2 separate regions of the Homo sapiens genome follow, and region 1 is linked to region 2. The links are contacts of gene promoters, found by promoter capture Hi-C in blood cells and fetal thymus (Javierre and others, 2016). All regions are on one chromosome and are shown on one strand. The core of a region is centred on a gene start or on the middle of the fragment in contact, and the rest is flanking DNA. Distances in the headings are between cores, read along the strand shown.

What was found. Contacts are between HindIII fragments. The CHiCAGO score rates a contact against its expected background, and 5 or more counts as called.
Region 1: a contact is called between a fragment that was not itself captured here and the fragment with the promoter of NOPCHAP1 in region 2, in 1 of 17 cell types (naive CD8 T cells). The highest score is 5.3, in naive CD8 T cells.

The regions. Positions count from the first base shown.
Region 1 is chr12:104,460,601-104,464,235 of GRCh38, reverse strand. All of the region lies in intron 1 of CHST11 (carbohydrate sulfotransferase 11), which reads right to left. Among named protein-coding and RNA genes, the nearest start is that of CHST11, 5.5 kb to the right of the region's middle. RefSeq lists an enhancer at 1,251-1,300. The HindIII fragment of the contact is 4,254 bases long and covers 259-3,635 here.
Region 2 is chr12:104,984,980-104,988,615 of GRCh38, reverse strand. NOPCHAP1 (NOP protein chaperone 1) reads right to left here and starts at 2,300. Exons shown (of 4, transcript NM_152318.3): 1 at 2,149-2,300; 2 at 363-449. The coding sequence starts at 2,263. It overlaps LOC105369952 (a long non-coding RNA gene), which reads left to right and starts at 2,246. Exons shown (of 2, transcript XR_007063436.1): 1 at 2,246-2,313. RefSeq lists a silencer at 1,821-2,070 and enhancers at 1,623-2,133, 2,134-2,646. The HindIII fragment of the contact is 4,173 bases long and covers 1,395-3,636 here.

The DNA of each region.
Region 1 (3,635 bases), core at 1,136-3,635, 520 kb after region 2:
ATTAGCCAGGTGTGGTGGTGCATGCCTGTAATCCCAGCTACTCAGGAGGCTGAGGCAGGAGAATTGCTTGGGCCCAGGAGGCAGAGGTTGCAGTGAGCCCAGATTGCACCACTGCACTCCAGCCTAGGTGACAGAGCAAGACTCCACCTCAAAAAAAAAAAAAAAAAAGTGCAAGTAGGAGACTTCATTTTCAATCTTGCTACATTGCTTCCACCCTTATTCCTTGCCTCCCTGCCCCAAGAGACCTCTGCTCAAGCTTCTGCAGCGCTTCCCTCCCATCTACAGTTAAACCCAAGGCTCAAAACAATTGTCTCTCTCCGACTTGTCTCTCCCCACTGTGGTTGTTGGCTGCCTCCGTCCCTCTGCTCTGGGCACTCTGACCACCTTGCCATGCGTGTTCTTGCCTCAGGGACCAGATTTGACTTGTGTTGCTCTCTGCCTGGAACATGGCCGGCTCCTTCATTTCCTGCAGGTGTCTGCTCTCAGTGTCATCTTATCAATGACATTCCCTAATTACCTCTATATTATATTGCAACCCCTGCCTCTCACACCCCTCAACCATCTTCTCTGTTTTGTTTTTCTCTTAACACCATCTGATATACCATATATGTCACTTCTGCATTTGCTTAAAGTCTGTCCGCCCCACTAGAATCTAAGTTCCATGAAGGCAGAGATGTATGTATGTGTTACATCTCCAGTGCCAAGAACAGTATCTGGCACAGAGTAGAAGAAAGGAAAAGAGAGAGAGACAGACAGACAGGGGGCTGGGGAGGAGGAGAACAAGTCTGCTTGTAAGTTTCAATCACTCACATTGGATCTAAGATGCATCAAATTACAAGTTCTAGGAAATTTTAACTGACAGATCAGATTGTTCATAGGAAGAACTGCCTCCCCTTTTATTTGTTATAAAGGTGGTGTCCCAAAAATTCAAAAGAAAAACTAAAAAGAAAAAAAAATGAATCAGCAGAATGACTTCTGGTTTTCCTCAGAGTCTGAACTTAGAAGAGGCCTGCTGGCAATGACTTTCATGAGAGCCTTTTTCACTTGACCTCCAGACTAAAGAGAGGTCCTTTTGGTGGGTTTAAGAAGGGAAAGGGTGGTGCCTTTGCTTATGAGCCTTTGACTTCCTGTTTTGAAATGACTGTGCTGATAAAGCTATGAACAAAATGATCTTTCAACCAGACAAATACTGACAGCAGATACCTCTGCTGAAGGATGGATTCCCTCACCCCTCACCCCACGGAAACCCCCAAACCACCCTTTCTGTGGTGCCTGATCACCCCTTTTTATTTTGGAAGGCAATGAAAATGAGGACTGTAACAATCAAAGGAGATCACCTACATCTGTCTCATCTGAGCACAGCAATGAAAATGCTCCATCGAGGTGCAAACATTTAAATGATCAAGGAGAGACCCCATGCTAAAAATGTCTTCTCCTTCAGTTATTTTTTTACTTGTTAATTTTTATAGGTACATAGTAGTTGTATATATTTATGGGGTACATGAGATCCTTCAGTGATTCAATGCTGTTTTCAGAATTCATAACAGTCTCATATTTGAGACCCTCTTGACACCTTTTCAATGGAAGTTTCAGGTGTATAACATAAGAACAGCCCCTACAAATTGGTAAGACTCCAAACTATTCCATGTATAAGCAAAAAGATTCTGTAACGTAACATTAAATTTGTGCAACCACAGCAAAAAAAATAATACCAGACTGACATCCTGCAAAGGGGTAGGGTGGGAGGTGGAGACACATGCAAGTCTATACATTTAAACAGTTATGGTTAAACTTTGTCTTTAACTTTAATAACTAGTTGTGACAATGATGTATTTGTCTAAAATACTTATTATCAAACAGGATACAAAATGCATGATGTTATCTCAACTATGTATATGCATTTTGCATAGTTGAGAAAAATACAGAATATATAAATATATATAAATATATTCTATAATATATTTTTAAAGTACCAGTTGCCTCTTGGTGGTGGAATAATGATTGTTTTTCTTCTATACCTCCTAAATTTTCTTTTTTTCTTTTCTTTTTCTTTTTTTTTTTTTTTTTTGAGATGGTGTTTAACTCTTGTTGCCCAGGATGGAATGCAATGGCACAATCTCAGCTCACTGCAACCTCCGCCTCCCTGGTTCAAGTGATTCTGCTGCCTCAGCCTCCCAAGTAGCTGGGATTACAGGCGTGCACCACCACGCCCGGCTAATTTTTTTTGTATTTTTAGTAGAGACGGGGATTCACCATGTTGGTCAGGTTGGTCTCAAACTCCCAACCTCAGGTGATCCACCTGCCTTGGACTCCCAAAGTGCTGGGATTACAGGTGTGAGCCATCGCACCTGGCCACCTCCTAAATTTTCTAAAATGAGCACATGTTATGTTTACAATTCGTTTAAAATTATAATACAAAATGCATTTTAGGTTCAACCTGATCAAGTGAAAGTGCAAGGGGGTAAAATGAGACATCTTTAAATAAAGGATATAATCTTTCAATACATTCAACCGAGGCAAAGAAATCCCAGGTGACAGTGAAAATAAACATTTTGCAAAAATAAAAATAATAGAGAGGAAGCAGACAGGAGAGAAAAGGCTTTCTCCTCTGAAGGCTTCTTTCTATGAACAGTAGATTTCAAACAAAAACCACAATCCTATGGAGTAACACAAAAGGAAGGTTCTGAAGAGCTGCCTTTACACACTCTGTGCCAATGCAGCCTGGGGGGCCTCTCAGCTTTGCACTGCATGACACAGCTCCATCAAAACCCAGCCATCTGGGGCAGGTATGCAAGACATTTTAATGCAAGCTGATGAACTTGCATAGGAAGCATTCATTGGTGAACTCAAACCTGTGTAGAAATCACAGGTATATGGTTCCATTCTCCCTAGCTTTAGGAATAGTTCACGGCCATAGAAGGTGTCTGTTCTATGGATGGATTTCCTTAGAATCCATCTAAGTGGCTAAACAAGACCAACCTTCTCCAGAATCCAGGACACAGAGCAGTGCCTCAGCTGCCTACACCTCACGGGCTGCAAATTTAGGTCACGGTGAAAGCTCCTGTCTGGCGCCTGATTAGTTTAAACTGGGTCCGTGTCACAGTTCAGGAAGGCAGGAAGTTTCCCCACCAGACAGAGCCAGAGTTATTGACCAGGCATTCTTGGCAAGGCTAGAAGTGACCTTCCTGAAAACCAGAGAAGTGGGTCTACTTCTGGAGTTTAACCACTTCATGCATTCATCCAGCAAACATTCTATTGAGAACCCACTGTTGTCAGACACCGTGCAAAAAACATCGGGATTAAAATGGAGTCTAAAACCTGGTCCTTGCCCTATAAAATATTCTTAAGGAAGACTATTAACTCAGAGTATCAAAAACTTCTAAATGTAACTATCCTACTGACAAGGCCCACTTCTGCTAAACCCTTGTGCAACTGATGACCAATTACTCAAATTTGCAAATTAATCAATTCTATGAATTAGAAAAGATAATGGGCCCCAGATTAGAATCAGAGAGAGGGACAGCCAGCCTTGCCAGCTGTCTCCTTTTTGTCTCTTTTTTTTTTTTTTTTTTGAGACACAGTTTCACTCTGTCGCCCAGGCTGGAGTGCAGTGGTGCCATCTTAGCTCACAGCAA
Region 2 (3,636 bases), core at 1,051-3,550:
TTATCATTTAAATAATTGTGTCCAATTCAATGGGATGTGGTTGTGGTTTTCCATCCATATATATTAAGTTTGAGGCTCAGTAACCTCTAAATAAATTTGCCATGGAGATTAACAATTGTTTTTGACTTCCCAAAATTCAACCCACAAGCAATTTTTCACGAAAAAGTTACCCTCTTAAAGTAGAGAAATAATGTAAGAAGTTCCATTCTGTGTACTGACTTTATCATGTAAATCCCAAGTAGGACTTGTTCCACTGGACTATCTGTGGTTTGATACCTGACAATGAAGGCAGAGACCGTCCCACAGCTTAATCAGACAAAACTCAGCATTAGAGAGGGTGAGAGAGGGGAAGAGGTACTTACAGGGACTCCTCTCTATCCGAACTGTTTGAAGAGTGGAGGTCTTTCTGGACTTAGGTTGGGAGTTGATGAGCAACCTGTCCCATATACCTGAAAATACAGACACACAAACACCCTTAATTTACTACAGCATAAAAAAACAAAGGCCCATCAGTAAGCCTCTCACATGACCAGTCTTAAGACTTGACTGTCCACACTCCCCCAAAATTTTTTTTTTAAAGGAGAACTCCAAGCTCCATTACAACATTTTAATTCTTTATGTACAGCCAGCCACCTCTCCTTTCTTACATCTGTCTCATTCACCTCTATCACCAATGGCAGGTAATAAATGCACACCAATCTGCACTTTTCTGGATCAGAAATTCATTAGCAGACAAACGTGGGTCTGCAATGACAGAACGGAGGAAACAGTACAGAGCATAACAATGGTTAAGTGAAGCCAGAAATGGTTACTAGTTGTGTAACACTGGGCAACTTACCTGATCTTCAAGCATTTGTTTCTTCATTAGTAAAACATGCTTGCCTGGTATTTCCCCTTCCCTGAAGACGTTCAACCCAAGGAAAGCAGCCTTTTGGGGATTTTGTCACCCACTCTACCTTTCCAGCCTCATTTCTCACTACTCAAATCATCCCAACTCTCTATCCCATCAGAGTTCCAAGAGGGGAACGTACAAAACTCAAGGCTTTGCACACCCTATTTCTAATACCCGGAAAATCCCTTAACTCTCTGGTTAAAAAACAAATCCTGTTCACCTGCAAAGCAGAGCCGCAACAAACATCCATTGAATGCCTACTACTTAAGGCCTACTGGATTCGTGATCAGAGCACAGAGTCTGGAGCCAGACTACTTGAATTCAAGTCCCAGTTTTGCTACTTTCTAGCCACATGATCTCCAGAAGGTAAATTACCTGTATGATAAATCATGTCTCAGGTTCCTCAACTATAAAACAGAGATAACAGATTTTCTGCAAAGGGTTGTTGTGAGGATTAGATGAGTTAGTTTCTGGGGCATACATAGTAAGGACTACATAAGCTTTGGTTATCATTATTATACTTCCTTCGGAATCTCTGGGTTCTCACAAAACCTTTTCTTCAAGCTAGTATTTACTGACAACATGCCCAAGCCTTTTTAGGCATTCTCCTCCTCACAAAAATTCTACAGGCATTACTACTATCACCATTTTCCAAATGCAAAAACTGAGGCTTAGGGAATGAAAATAACTCTAAGTCCCACCAGTTAATTACTAGTGGAGCTGGGATTCGAACTCGTGCTTTTAAATTCTACCTATAGTGTCTGAAATGCTGTGTGGATTTCCTGGATGCATGTCTCCCTCTACAAGACAGCAGCACTAAGGGGTGGTCTGTGTGGGTGTGAAAGAGGTAGGGACTGTTAGCATAATATTACTCCGCTTCCCCCTATCAGCCAACTGCTCCGACCCAGGCAGCCAAACCAAAAGCCCTCCCTTCCCCAAAAGAACTCGAGAGCTTCCCAGCTTCCAGGGCAGGGCAGATGCCTGGCAGCGGCGCCTGGCAGGGTGGGCGCTCACTACCTTGCAGAATATAAGAACCACTAGCTGGGGAAACCATTCCGGGCCCGCAGCCGGGTGCCCGCCCCAAAGCCCCCACCCCTGCCGCGGGCAGGGCACGCCGGAGCCCCGCAGCAGTCCCCGGGGCTCCCCTCGAGGGTACGGAGCCCGGGCAGGGAGCCACCGGCCGGCTCCCAAACTGCACCGGCCGCGCCTCCTCTGCCGCACGTGTGCGGCCCATGCCGCCGTCACCCGTCCGTCACCTCCGCGGCCGTCGCTTCCCGCCGTCAGCAGCTCCTTGGACACTGGGACTCCTGAGGAATCCCGGGTGGGCGACGAACAACTCGGGCTAGCCTTGGGCTTGCCATGGACCTCCATGCTTCCCTCAAGCCTGCACTCTCAGGCCCGGATGCAGGAAAAAGGCTCGGGTAAGGGGGCGGGGAGAGGGCCGCGATTGGAGGAAACTGCGGTGGGCGGAGTAAGGAGCGGAGAGAGAGGCGGGGCGAGCGTGGTGCAGCCTGGAGGCTGCGCGGGAGCAGGGGCCATTCCTACTCCTGGGAAAAAGAAAGGTTCAGACACTGTCATAGGAAAAAACAGCGGGCAAGGCTCGATTTCGCCAAATTCGGGCATAAAGAGCATAACATTAGGCTTCCCTCCTCTTTATCCTTTTTTATTAAATTTTTTTTTAATTGGTGAAAAAACACGTAACAAAATCTACCATCTTAACCATTTTTAGTTGTACAATTCAGTGGTGGCAGACCTCTAGATCATTTTCATCTTGCAAAACTGAAACCTTATACCCATTTACCCCTACTCCAGTCCCTTGGTAACCACCATTCTACTTTCTTCTTTGTTTCTTTCTTTTTGAAACAGCCTTGCTCTGTCGCCCAGGCTGGTGCCTCAGCCTCCCAAGTAGCTAAGATTACAGGTGCACACTACCACGCCCGGCTAATTTTTGTATTTTTGTATAGAGACGGGTTTTCACCATGTTGGCCGGGCTGATCTTGATTTCCTGACCTCGGGAGATCCACCCACCTTGGCCTCCCAAAGTGCTGGGATTACAGGCGTGAGCCATCATGCCCAGCTACCATCGTTCTACTTTCTGTTACTATGAGCTTGACTACTTCAGATACATTATGTAGGTGGAATCATACAGTACTTGCCTTTTTGTTACTAATTTCACTTAAAATAATACCCTCAAGGTTTAGACATGTTGTAGCACATAACAGGATTCTCTTCTTTTTTAAGCCTGAATAATATGCCATTGTATGTATATACCACATTTTCTTACCATTGATCTCTCAACAGGCGTGCTGGTTGCTTCCACCTCGTGGTCATTGTGAACGCTGCTGCAATGAACATGGTGGTACAAATATCTCTTAGAGACCCTGCTTTTCAATGCTTTGGGATACATACCCAGACATGGGATTACTGGATAATAGGGTAATTCTACTTTTTAGGTTTTTGTGAAGCCTCCGTATAGTTTTTCATAGTGGCTGCACCATTTTACATTCCCACAGTGCACAAGAGTTCCAATTTCTCCACATCCTTGTCAATATTTCCTTTTTCTGTTTGGTTGCTTCTTTCTTTTTGACAGTGAGCATCCCAGTGAGTGTGAAGTGATATCTTGAAGTTTTGGTTTGCATTTCTCTAATGATTTAGTGATGCTGAACACCTTTTCATGGGCTTGTTGGCCATTTATATATCTTCTTTGGAGAAATGACTATTCAACTCCTTTACCCATTTTTTAA